Linked DNA regions of Homo sapiens: all the other regions are linked to region 1. The links are contacts of gene promoters, found by promoter capture Hi-C in blood cells and fetal thymus (Javierre and others, 2016). All regions are on one chromosome and are shown on one strand. The core of a region is centred on a gene start or on the middle of the fragment in contact, and the rest is flanking DNA. Distances in the headings are between cores, read along the strand shown.

Region 1 (4,445 bases), core at 1,124-3,623:
GCTTATTAAATGTGACTTTCACCACTTTGATGCCGTCATCATCCACAAGGACTGAATGCGGAAACAGGAAGAAAACCACCAAACCAGATGCCAGGAGACAAAGCAGGATGGACAGGAGGACATATTGCTTACTGCAAATGACACAGCACATGACCGACCCAGGCAGTCAGATATCAAGGTTCAATGTGTCAAGATTAAACACAAAACCAGGAAAGAGAAGGGAGCTGAAAGGGAAGTTCCAAGAGCCAGGAACCATAAACCAGTTAAGAAGCAGTGAAGCAGGAGAAACCTTTTAAAACTCCTTTAAACACTGTTTGCACTCTGGGAAGAAAAGCTGAAGAAAGGAGCTATGTGGACAGAGACAGTCCCACACCTCCCAGAACACTCCACTTTCCCAGTTTCTTCTGATTCCATTCCTTGACCTTCAAAGCATTTCCAGCTTCAAGTTTCTTTCCCCAGATTGTGATGGGGGCAGAGATATCTTGCTTGGGCAAACAGTTATAAGGAAAATGGGGAACTTATAAGAACATGTGTAGTTTTCAAAGAATTAACTGGCATTCATACATACAGAAAGAGATTAGGGACAGAAGTAGGTATTAACAGGTGAGAAGCAGGTAACTCACGTTCGCTGAGGGCGCAATCTCTGATCACTGTGTGGGATCAAAGCCACCAACTCATTTACTTGCTCTAGAAAAGAGCCAAACAATTATTTTGTAAATCCCATGTGTTGGCAGTACTTCCTTCACGTCTCACTTGAGCCTGCCACAACAAATATTCTTCTGGAATGAGACATTTTAAAAAATACTAGTGAAATTCACATGTTGGGTCTAATGAACAAGAAACAAGAGAGTGCCACAAATTATAAAACATCTATCAGTGCTGCCAGGGTAGTGATGTGGAAGTTGAAAAACCTGGGATCCTGTTCTGGCTTTACTGCATGGGCTTGGCAGAGTCGTCGAATCTCTCAAGGCCATGGTTTCCTTGCCTTTCATATGGAAGCTTTGGAGTAAATGATTTTGAAGGTCCTAACCAGCTCTAAATTTCTGTGACTCTCCAGCTAAACTGTTAAAGACTTTCTGAGGGCCAATTTGTTAATAGTAATAGATGATCCTGTACCAAGGCTAAGTATTTGTCTCTCTCTCTTGACCTGATATATTTTTCTGACCTTAGGCTGTTAAGGATTAGCTACCCATTTCCTTGAAAAGCAGCTTCCAAGATGGTTCCCCCGCAAAGCTGTCCCAATCCTTGTGACAGCGATAAAGAAATGTGCCTGTCAACAAATCCCACAACACAGAGCGAACTGAATGTTCCAAACCTCAGGAAAAGAACAAGAGTGGCGGTAAAGAAAAGAAAGGGTTGGAAAAATAAGGAGAGGAAGAGAAGTTGCAGAACTGCCCAAGTGTATTAAGTCAGTTGAGCTGGCTCCTGTCCAGGGCACTGTCTCTATTATGGTATTACTGCCTAGAAGAAAAGTTGTCTGGGCAGACAGGAGAACTCCGAGGGTACCTTGGGATTCTCATCAGGGAATCATCCCTCCATGATCACCTGTTGGAATGTAGCCTGTCCCCTGGCACGTGAGACAGGTGATGCTATCTCTCCCGGTGAATTCCACATATGGGAACTGAGCAATGGCTTCTTCCTGCTCTCGTTCAGCCAGCAAACCGTCCCTGTCATCTTCTTGCTTTCGCCTGCAGGAGGAGGGGCGAGCAGCAGCGGAATGCTGAGACCCCATGGCCGTGATATGCCACTGGTGTCATGTCCTAAGATGAAAAGAGGGAGTGCACGTTAGCGGCCCCAGTGAATCACGACAGAAATCGCTTGTTTCTATAAGAAAATTAAAAACGCAAAAATGACAAGTTGCCGCCCTGAGTGTGGTCCCAACACCTGTACGATTTCTATCGGGACCCTCATTTTGTAGTAGTGCTACCCACTCTCCTCTTACCCGCCACACACAGCCGGCGGGGGTGGGGAGGGGGAACGGGGCCTGCCTTTCACGCACCTGCCTCGATCCTCACCGCCCTGGGACTTGGGGCACCCCCGCTCCCACCTGGTCCAGCCTCGCCCCTTCCTCTTCACTATTTGTAAGCTCTATGCCCCTCCTCGAGCAACAAACAGGCACCAAATTGATAACCGGCCTTAACGATTCCCATTCCTCTCCACCCCCCAGCCCCAGGAGGCGGGCTCAGGTCACGCCCCTTGGCAAAAAGCGATGCTCTGAGCCCACCAAAGTGGCCCAGGCAGGAGCGAACGCCAGCGTCGCAGACCTGCAGGGCACGAACTCCCGGCAGCTCCTCTCCGGCCGCTCCCCCGACCACCTGCCAGCTTGAGGACTTACCAGCCTCTTCGGTCGGCGGAGCGGCACGCACTCAGCGCGCAGGCGCCAAATACCAAGCCCGCCAGGAGAACGCGGGCGCGCGCTCGCGCGTGCGCTCTTCGCGGCTCCGGAGGCCTTCCCAATATCGCAGCTGTCTGGCTCCCTCGGTTCCGGTAGAGGGCGGCAGAGAGCGCCGGGGAGCCGCGACCCTTGCTGTTGGGCCGCGGTAGTCCGCGGAGTCGGGATGATGCTCTGCTGTTCGCTAGATAGGCTGGGAAAGGCTCCAGTCAAGTTTCCAGAGCAAAACACTTCTCTGCTGCGAGAGGAGGAAGGTGCTGCCGGCTACCGAAGCCATTCTGAAATATTCTTTATAGTACAGGAGCTGTGTAGTCGCTGAGGGTACACACATGCGGAGCATTCGGATAAACTGCCTTTGCAAAAATTGTAAGTGAGAAAATTATGACAGTGAAAGAGATCTGACTTACCCAGTTCCGTCTTGCTTCTAACCTCCGAACTGCCCTTGTTCATTCCTGGGTATAGGCCAAACTAACTTTGGGAGGAATTTAGTTTATAGTTGAACTTCGAAGCAAAGATAACAGCCCTTCCCCAAAACAAACCCCCTTCTTGCCTGGGGACCAGACTGCCTTTGTAAGACTAACAAATTAGCCACAAGATTAGAAATTATGGTTTAGGAGTCATCCAGACAGAGGTCACAAGATTCCAAACCTTCCCTATTGCTCCAAGGGATAACATCACTATTGTAAAATCTAAGATCGGTGCTGGGGATATTTTTCAGACCCTGCATTCTGAGGCACCAGCTGGCAGTACCTAGACCAGTTATCTGGCTCAGCCAGTTCTGCAATCCCACCCAGGAACAGAAAACAGCAAGAAGAACCCACTTAGACCCCCCTATGATTTCATCTCCAACCTGACCAATCAGCACTCCCCACTGCCTGATACCTACCAGCCGAATTATCCTTAAAAAACCCCAGTCTCTGAATTATCGGGGAGACTTATTTGAGTGATAAAACTCTGGTATCTCATTCAGCCGGCTCTGCATGAATTAAAATCTCCATTGCAATTCCCCTGTCTTGATGAATCAGCTCTGGGCAACGGGCAAGGAGAACCCGTCCGGCAATTATATCAGAACCTGTCTTCAGTCCAGGAGGGGAACCCAGAGGCTTCATCAGACCCCTCCAATACTGTAGATAAAAGTGCTGCTGGAAGTCTCACAAGTCAGAGGGGCCCAGCCTGGGGGAAACCTTCCATGGGGAGTCCTGCTGGCTTCTCGCAGGAACGGACCCCACAGCTGAGCTTTGCAAGCCAATTAGGTGCCAAGAGGCACCAAGGAGTAGATTCATTCGGTAGTAGGGCCCCCCCTTCCCCAGACCTCCACAAAAAAGGCACGTACGTAAGAGGTTAGAAAGCACTTTTCGTTCGTTTGTTTGTTTGTTCGTTTGTTTTGAGATGGAGTCTTGCTCTGTCGACCAGGCTGGAGTACAGTGGCACAGTCTCAGCTCACTGCAACCTCCGCCTCCCGGGTTCAAGCGATTCTCCTGCCTCAGCCTCACAAGTAGCTGGGATTACAGGCGCACACCTCCACACCTGGCTAATTTTTGTATTTTTAGTGGAGACCGGGTCTCACCATGTTGACCAGGCTGGCCTCAAACCCCTGACCTCAGGTGATCTGCCCACCTTGGCCTCTCAAAGTGCTGGGATTACAGGCGTGAGCCACTGTGCCCGGCCTAGAGGGTACTTTTTAATGGGTGGGTTTCTTTGTTCATACTGCCAGGTTGAGCTTAGCCTGCAGCAGCAGGAGTTGAGTACAGACATTAACCAGGTGAAATTATTAAAGATGATGCTAGGGGAGAGGAGATATTCTGAAATGGGATGAATAAGGGGCCCACTTGGCAATAGAGAGTGAGGCTGAGGCTGGTGACCCCTCAGGTTTCTGCCACCTCTGTATTTTCCTCTTTCTCCTGTGGGGAATGCCAATGTACCTGCTGTTGTCTAGCCATCTGCCTGACCACTGGCCACAATCAGCCCACTGAGTCTTTAGTAAGAGGCAACAAGGACCCTCTACTTCCCCTCTCACATCTCTGATCCACCTCTTCTCCTTCTTGAAATGTTT
Region 2 (4,424 bases), core at 1,881-4,380, 160 kb before region 1:
TATCTCAAGAGAATATGCAGAATTATAAGGGAAAGGGGCAAGGAATGCAACCCTGAGGAAAACCAACATTGAAGGAACAGGAAGGGGAAGGGGGGTTCCATGATAAAAACTAATAAGGGGCAGCAAGAAATACAAAAGAACCAGGATTTAGCAATGTCTTAGAAGCCAAAAGTGGACAGTTTCAAGAAGTTGGAACAGTGCCAAATGCTTCTGATAACTGATCTAAGGTAAGGCCTGAAAGTTTGGGCTTGTCAACAAGAAGCCATTGGTGAGCACTGATGTCAAAGCTTACTTATGACATCACTAAGGCAAAGCCCCATGAAGTCTAGAAGCCTAAGTTCACAACCTTAAGTTGAAGGCATCAAAACCAAAAAATCTGTGAAGAGAGGGGCTTCTCAGTAGCTTGAGGAATAGCCTATGTGTGTGAAAGGAACAAGGTCAAAAGTCAACACAAAGCCTTCAATGCTTTAGGAAAGATGAATAAAGTTAGCTCAATAAGATCAGAATAGATATGAAACTAAAGTTTGTTTTCCAGTCTTTCACAAGGCCTATGGGATTCTCTTCTGGATACCTGGAGTTCTGGAGTATGAATTTGTAATTTCAGGAAATAAGGGAAAAAATTGTTCTGAAATGTATAGGTTGGAACATTGTTTCCTGTTCCCAAGCTGAGTAAATGGTCCTGTAAAAACTCTAACTTAATGCAATCCTGTTGGTATACCCAGGGTTAAGAGAGACAAGTGACTCCGAACGTTTTCAGTACAAAAGCAAACAACAGATGGTGGGCAGGGACTATCCAAATCTGTTGGGCATACAAAAAAAATCTCACAATAAGGAAATTCTCTTCTCCCTCTGCCTTCTTCTTACCTCAACTCTACCAACTTCCAGAAGTCATTCATCCTGTCTCCAACTTGAATATCTGAGTGTTTTCCTAGAAACCAAACTTTAGGATGCTCTTCATGTACCTGGTACCTATGCCTCAAACCCCTAGTTCCCTAAAAATCACAAACTTTGGGGTATACAAATAGTTTATATTAAGGAGCCCCGGTAATTCTTTGAGCTCTCCTAGCCAACCTGACTAGCTTAGTCTGGCCCCAAGCCAGTCCTGGCCAGAGTCTCCTTGGCTGTTCCATGTTGCCCTAAATAACCCTCCATGGCAGTTGTCTGACTTATTAGAAGCAAGACGAAGGATAAGATTACAGGCACCATCCAGTAGGTATTCTGGGTGTAGTCAGGAGGGGTTCTGGAGAACATCATAAGCACGTAGTTTGGAGTCTCCAATTACGGCATATTGGGAAGAGGTTTTAGAAAGAAGAACTGTGGGTAATGGGTCTCTATGAGACTAGACAGAAAAAAAATCTAATAAATGACTTGAGCATGACTTTAAAGCTGATACTAAATAATTTATTTCTGCCTTAACTTTCATAAGATTTTTAAAAATATATGAGGAATAAACATTTGTTAGAGATGAATTGCACTTCCTAATGGATATCATAAGTAAAAATTATAAACCTTAGAATAGCAAGCCAGAGAGGTAAAAGGATCTCTGTTCGTGCGAACCTTTAAAAATAGAAAAGGCCAGGTGTGGTGGCACATGGCCTGTGGTCTCAGCTACTTGAGAGGCTGAGGCAAGAGGATTGCTTGAGCCAGGAGTTCAAGACCAGCCTGGGCAACATAAAAAGATCCCTTCCCATCTTTTTTTTTTTTTTTTTTTGAGACAGAGTTTCACTCTTGTTGCCCAGGCTGGAGTGCAATGGTGTGATCTCGACTCACCGCAACCTCTGCCTCCCGGGTTCAAGCGATTCTCCTGCCTCAGCCTCCCAAGTGGCTGGGATTACAGGCATGCACCACCACGCCCAGCTAATTTTGTATTTTTAGTAGAGACGGGGTTTCTCCATGTTGGTCAGGCTGGTCTCGAACTCCCAACCTCGGGTGATCTGCCCGCCTCGGCCTCCCAAAGTCCTGGGATTACAGGTGTGAGCCACTGCACCTGGCCGATCCCGTCCCATCTCTTAAAAAAAAAAATCAAAAAGATAAACATACATTTGTAATGGCTGGCTATCTGGAGACAGAGGGCCAGAGCAGATGACTGACTGAGGTCCTTTCCAGGGGTAGAATATGCCGATGTCATAAGGCTAAAGGTAGCATAGTTTTGGCGGCTGAAGCCATTCCTAGGCTGGAAAGGGAATTAGGATTTGGTACGGCATCAGCCCAGCATCCCAGAGTTCTTTGTTTTTGAGCTCAGGATGTCTGATTCCTGGCCATTTTTCTACCTCAAGAGATGATTAGCTTTGCTGAATTTGGAGAATGACAAAGCTGTGACCTCTATGGATTTTACACAGCTCAATCTCACTTTCCCATGTGGCCCACAAGCCCTAAGGGAAAAAAAACAAAACAAAACATTTCTATGTTTTCTCCCCGGGAGAACTAGAGTCCATCAAACTCAGCTCTGGGCAGGCGACTTCTGAATTTGAGCTTCTCCTTCAGCTAGGACCTCTCAGCTCTATTTTGAGTTTTCTGTTTTGCCTCCTTGCCTCCATAGAATTTCAGTTTCTATCACTCTCAATCCCTAGTGACATGTGGCTGTGATGTTATGGGGATTTGCAGGTGGGCTATTTCCCTGGCTACACTGTGCCTATCAGCTGGGTCCTTCAGAAATCAGCTTATCTATAGTCCCTGCCTCCATAAAACAGGGTCTTTTTCTTACAGCAGTGAGTTATGGTCTTCACTAGAATAAGAGGGTCTCACTGCTCAGGATCAGAAGGTGGAAGGGCTCTGCTGCTCTGAGACCCAAGTTAAATCCTAGTCTGACCTTTCTTTCTCTCTTTCCCTCTCTAAAAAGCTCTTCTTCATTTTATAACTCTGTGCATCTCACTTGGTTTGTTTAGCAGGCTTTCTTCTTTCTTCCCCTAATCTGACAATCTGGGTCCACAGATCATTCTACCAAGGTTTCAGGATCAATGCTCAAGTACATGTTAAAGAATTCAGTATTGGCATGGTACTCTGCCAGCAGAGAAGACAGATGCAATAAAAGCCAGATCTGTGGTTTCTGCAAACTCAACTAGGGCTCTGCATTCCTAATCTGGTCACTATTCCTAAACTCAGACCTCCGTACCCTCCTTCCTCAGTTTCTTCATTCTAGCACTTTCTGATTCATAACCTATATCACAATTATAATAAATATTAGTTTAAAAAGTCTAGCTTTACTAATATACTAATAAGTATCATAAGAACAAAGATTGCGTCAGACTTTTTCACTGATGTATCACTGGTGAACCTCATCATCATCCTGATTGACACAGTAGATACTCACTAATTCATTTTTAATTAATGATCACATGTATTGAGTATTTACGATGTGCCTGCTACTGTTCTAAGCACCTTACTTAAATAAAGAGTTCAGTGTCTTGAAATCTACCTTCTCCATGAAGTTTTCACTGATTAATTCAATCAGAGGCTATCATTTCATTATGTAAGTAGATTCCACTTGGTTAATGCACACTTGCTTATTTTTATTTATGTGCCTTATGTAAGAATTCTAGTTTCCTCATTAAACTATAAATTCCTAAAGGAATTCAACTTCTTCAAAACATACAAGACAGGGCTCTATACAAAGTGGGTCCTTAGCGCAAAGTCTAAAAAAGCCTAGGAACAGTGGTGCAGAGGAGGGGAGCCTAGCTGAAATCGCTTTCCTTCTCTCTTTCTAATTGTCTCCATGTCATGTATCCTTTTCAAAGAAATTCTACCTCTTTTCAATGTATCAGAATATATCAGAAGATCAAAGGAGAAAAAGTTTTTTTTAAAAAAATCAATACCCTCTTACTCCCACTCCGTGTTTCCTATATACCTAATTTTCGTGACTCCCAGGTTTCTTAAATTCAACCTAGAAAAGGGTTTTTGCTGGCTCTGTTTTCTGCCCCTCCACCTCATACCGGATCTGTATTGATTAACTGCTGCTGTTCCTATTTGTTCAAGGGGTGATGAAAGGGAAGAGGAGGAAAGGCCAGAGAAAACCGAGTGCCTGACTGACCTTGGTCAGTGCAGGAACTCTCCAGACATCAGAGTTAATACCTGAAGACCTAGTTGGGACCCACCATATACTAATTCTGGGTCTCCTCCCATCCCCACCATTACCAAAGTACATGAAGTTAATCCACTTACTGCCTTCTCAATAACTTTATCTCTTTAGTTTCTTTCCAATGCTGCTTGAGAAAACACCACTCTTTTAGGTTCCCAAAGACCAAAAGAGCCCCCTGTCTTCAAAGAAACTTGGAAATAAGTTTTATGAAGATGTGGGTAAATAAACGCATGGCAAATAAAATTCAAATGCACTTGAGGACTTAGGCCTCACAGAAATTTTTAGCAAAGCCCAAAATTCCCGTGAACCTACAGAAGAATAATTCTATTGTATAGGCTAAGGGAGTCAG
Region 3 (4,479 bases), core at 558-3,057, 180 kb before region 1:
TAAGATTAAAGACAGGAAAGAGACAGAGAACCTATAAATCAATGGCAATTAGCATTTAAAATGTTCTGAATGAATGCCTGAACCTTCCCTTTCACTTTGTTTTCATAGGCCTTATGGCTCTGGGGATTTGATATGGCATGATAAGGAAGCAGGAATGGGGAATGAGGATGAGGTTTGAAGTCAGAACTGAGTTTGAGTTCTACTTGAATAATATTGAAGGAGACATTATGTAATCAATCACCTTGAGCTCCAGTGTCCTCCTTTCTGAAGTCAGGCTGTCACCATTGCCCTCCAAAAGCTACTATGAGGATTCAATGATGAAATGCCTACCACAGTGCTTGATATTTATTGTTAATTTCTCTTCCCACTAAAGAACTGTGCAAAGAGTATTTGGCTGCCTTATTCCCTGACTCCAGCAACAAACCTTCTCAGTCACTATTTAGAACTGTTTTTAGAGTTTGGCAGTGACAATTTTTCAGACAGCCAGCAAGTAGTGTACTAGAGATAATCCCTTCCTCCACCCCCTGTGATACCCTTAACGTCTTTACTGCTTCATCAGACAAGTGTCTGATACATGGGGCTGACAGTATTACATTCCACTTAGGAAGATGATAACAGGAGAAGCAAAAGCACAGTGACCAGTTGGCATTTATTAGTGTAGTTACAATTTGTCACTGTAGTAAAAGTAGTAGAGGAACCAAGACTCTTTGTTATCACAAAGAAATAAATAAAGCTTATTTTTAGGAAAATTCTAACTGAGTAAGTGATATCTAGCAGTAGCACTAGAGGTGCCCAGCCTTGTGTGACAGATAAAGCTGGGGCAGAAGTCATGTTAAATTCTACCTAAAAGGAGCTCCCACCCACTGCCTGCTCCTCCAGCTCCTGGCCAGAACTGGTCATGGCTGCAAGGTACAGAATAAAAGGAAACCTAATGAAAAAAACAGCTAAAACACTGAGAAGATGTGGACTTATTAGGGTGTGAGCTGACCATGATCAGGTAATCTATTCCCCTCACTCCAGAGAGGTTTAGACGGCAGCTTCCCCGGACCGCTTCCGGGTGATGTGCTCCAGGTGGGCATGGTCTGAAGTGTCCAAGTCAATCTCGTACTTGGCTAGGATTTTGAGGATGGGCCTCAGTTTCAGCCACCACTGTTCCTTGGGGATTCGATGCCTACAGAGGAATGAGGTAGATGATGATATAATCTTTTAGCACCCCAATCAACTTCTACCAAAGGTTTATAGGAAGAAGTTAGACAGAAGAGGTTAGATTTAGGACATGTGCATCACATCTGAAATGGGTAAGAATACAGGTGTTACTCCTTAAAAAAAAAAAAGAATTAAAGACAGTGAACAGGTTGAGGACAGTAGAGCTTGAAACTACCAGGGAAAAGAACCACTCCAGGAAGCAGATGTACTCACTCAAAATCTGTCTGGTCCTTCAGCTCAGCCACTGGTTGGAAGACCAGAGCCCTCTTACGCATCCCCAGAACACAGCCCGAATCTGGAGTATTGGCAAAGATCCGCCCTGCAATGAGGGATGGGCAGTCAGCTTCTATACTGGGGAACCAGCCTCTATAGAGGGCACTCGCTCTCACCCCACCTACCATTACGGTAACTCTCTTTGATTTTCCCAGACATCCAGTTCATAGCCTTGGCGCCCATCTTAGTGGCAAAATTCCTATCAAATGGGGTTGGGCTCCCACCCTGGAGAAAGAAACATAAAAATTACAGAGGGAAGGACTCTAATGAAGTGGCAGAGATATCTAGACACACAGAGAAAAAAAGAAAGATGGGCCCCAGGCTTACAGCCCAAAACAGGAATCCAGAAGTCAAACTATGAAAGGGTGCCCTGAGGCAGTGCCAGGATCCAAGGCAAGCTGGCCCAGCAAATTTGGCCATGTATCAGATATAATAACAACTAATTAAAGATGATTGGCCCCACAATCCCCTCTTTTAGCTCCACAGCTGCCAGATCCTGTTTTAGTTTTATTGGCCAATGGGTCAGCTGCCTGCCCCTCTTCAGCCCAGCAGCTTTTGTTGATCACTGTCAATGATGACATAAAAGTGTTTTTTTTGTGGCCCAATCTGGCTGCCCTTGGTAGCACCTCAGAATTAATATAAAACATCATACAGATTTCCTTTGAATTAAGAGGAAGCAGGTGGGAAAGTGGGAATGTTTGGAGACATTTTTGTTACAATTGGGAGTGAGAGGGAGGTGCTACTGGCATCTAGTGGGTAGAGACCAGGGATGCTGTGCAACTGTCCTACAGTGCATAGAACAGCCACCCATGACAAATTATCATCCAGCCCCAAAAGGCAAAGCTGCCAAGGTTGAAAAGCCCTCCCATGAGGGCTTTTGAAAAGGATAGACCATATAATCTCTAAAGTCATTTCCAGGATAAAGATGTTTTGATTCTATGACTGTAAGAGACTGCAGGCCCATGCTCTATGATGGCACTGACAGGCTCCTCCAGAAGACTGGAAAAGGCCAGTGGAAGCCTCAGTGGCTGTTGGCAGGTATGGCTGTTGGCAGGTATGGCTGTCTGATGAAGGGCATGACTACGGTGTCTTCCCTACCTGCTGCATGTGACCAAGCACATTCTTCCTGCTGTCGAAGATGCCCTTCCCCTCCTCAGAGTACAGGTTGAAAATGAAGTCAGTGGTATAGTTCTCATTGCACTTTTCATTCCTGCCAGGTGGAGACCAAAAGCCTGTGACTCTGTGGTTGGCTTCCCATCCCCCATTTCTGCCTTTGTTCTTTCCTTTCAATTTTTATCTCCTCCAAGGATTCAAGGGATAGGCTGGCCCCCTCCCTTTATATCTACAGATTCCTCAGGGTGTCCCAACAATGGCCATTCTATGGGTTTGAGCCAAAGCTTATTTTTCTTCTTCATTTAGGAACAAACCATGGATGAGGTACCTTAACACCAAGCCCCTTTTCACAGTTGTTTTCATCTTTTGCACCAGATGTTCAACATTTGCCTGAAAATGAAAGAGTAAATCCTAAGCCTAACTGGGAATGGATAAGGTTGGGTATAAATCATCTTCCACACCACACCTCTCCAGGAAGGAAGAGACACATGGAAGAGAGTTGTTTACAATCCTGGGCCTGAACTGTGCCTAATTCCTGTAAGAAGCTCAGTGTGGACTGAAATTTAAACAATGACTCCAAATGAGACAGAACTGGAAGAGGGAGCACTACAGACAGCTGCAGTAACTGTCAGTGTTCAGCCCCTCACCCTCTCCAATCTCCCTTTCCAAGCCTTTCTGGTTCCCCTTGCCTCAGAGGGCTGACTTGTGGTCACAGTGTCAGTGTTGACACTTTATATCTCTGTTTTGAGAGAGTATCTCTCTCAAAAGCAGAATGACAGCAAGGGAAATCTGAAGGGGAGACATGATGTAGTAAAAAGATCACTGACTTTCTCAACCACTTAAACCATCTGCTCACTTAGGAGTTTAGAAAAGTTTTTTAACCTCTCTAAACTTTCTATGTTATATGGAGATAGTATCTTCTTTGCATGTCTATTGTGAAGATAAAATGCAAAAATGCCCATAAAGGGCTTAGCACCAGGTCGCCTGACTCAAAATCAGCATTCCAACAACAGTAGCTGCGGTCATGCATATGAGGTGACACCAGAGAATGCCTGCATAGTGCTCTTTCTGGTCTTCACAGGATTCTACAGACCAATCAGCTCGGTCCTCAACTTGAGCTCTCATAGTTCAGATCACTGTGGAAACAGTCTGGAGACAGGGGAGAGCTATCTAGCAGGCTCTGGGTGGCCAGCTACCTGCAGGTCTCGAATGGTGAAGGGCTCCTCAAAAATGTAGGCAGCATCGGCCCCAGCTGCCAGTCCAGCCATGGTAGCCAGGTAGCCACAGTAGCCACCCATAGTCTCAATGATAAACACCCGACGCTTGGTGCCAGCTGCTGACTGCTTGATGCGGTCACAGGTCTGCAAGGACAATGGGTTATAGTTAGAAAGACATGATCAGGGGCCTGATTCTTATCACTCTTTAATCTTTGCCATTAATTAAACCCTGGAACTATATTCTCCATAGGCTAGCAGGGCCCTTAGAGCTCATCAAGTTCTTGCATTTAGGGTAACAGGCATATTTGCCAACCTCACTGCAGAACGTCTCTCCTGGGAAGAAAGCTGTACCTATCCTTTCTACTGCTCAGAAAATTAGACTGCATGATCTCAGAAAGAAAAAAAAAAACAAACAAAACATTTGGTATTCAGGGTACTGGTGCATTTCTAGGTGAGGAAACTGAACACTTTGTCACCCAGGCTGGAGTAAAGTGGCACGATCTCTGCTCACTGCAACCTCCGCCTCCCAGGTTCAAGCAATTTTCCTGCCTCAGCCTCCCAAGTAGCTGGGATTACAGGCGCCTACCACCACACCCAGCTAGTTTTTGTATTTTTAGTAGAGATGGGGTTTCACCATGTTGGCCAGGCTGCTCTTGAACTCCTGACCCCA

What was found. Contacts are between HindIII fragments. The CHiCAGO score rates a contact against its expected background, and 5 or more counts as called.
Region 2: a fragment that was not itself captured here is called in contact with the fragment with the promoter of TMEM106C in region 1 in 1 of 17 cell types (naive B cells); the score reaches 5.1 in naive B cells.
Region 3: a contact is called between a fragment that was not itself captured here and the fragment with the promoter of TMEM106C in region 1, in 1 of 17 cell types (fetal thymus). The highest score is 5.6, in fetal thymus.

What each region holds. Positions count from the first base shown.
Region 1 is chr12:47,961,524-47,965,968 of GRCh38, reverse strand. TMEM106C (transmembrane protein 106C) reads right to left here and starts at 2,373. Exons shown (of 8, transcript NM_001143842.2): 1 at 2,265-2,373; 2 at 1,546-1,760; 3 at 624-687; 4 at 1-131. The coding sequence starts at 1,732. The HindIII fragment of the contact is 3,638 bases long and covers 1,002-4,445 here.
Region 2 is chr12:48,122,909-48,127,332 of GRCh38, reverse strand. The region is part of intron 2 of PFKM (phosphofructokinase, muscle); the gene reads right to left. Among named protein-coding and RNA genes, the nearest start is that of PFKM, 5.8 kb to the right of the region's middle. The HindIII fragment of the contact is 5,681 bases long and covers 290-4,424 here.
Region 3 is chr12:48,142,256-48,146,734 of GRCh38, reverse strand. It overlaps PFKM (phosphofructokinase, muscle), which reads right to left. Exons shown (of 23, transcript NM_000289.6): 18 at 3,789-3,953; 19 at 2,921-2,982; 20 at 2,578-2,689; 21 at 1,605-1,704; 22 at 1,420-1,525; 23 at 331-1,171. The coding sequence ends at 1,027. Among named protein-coding and RNA genes, the nearest start is that of MIR6505, 12 kb to the right of the region's middle. RefSeq lists a silencer at 3,517-3,691 and an enhancer at 3,323-4,304. The HindIII fragment of the contact is 2,143 bases long and covers 736-2,878 here.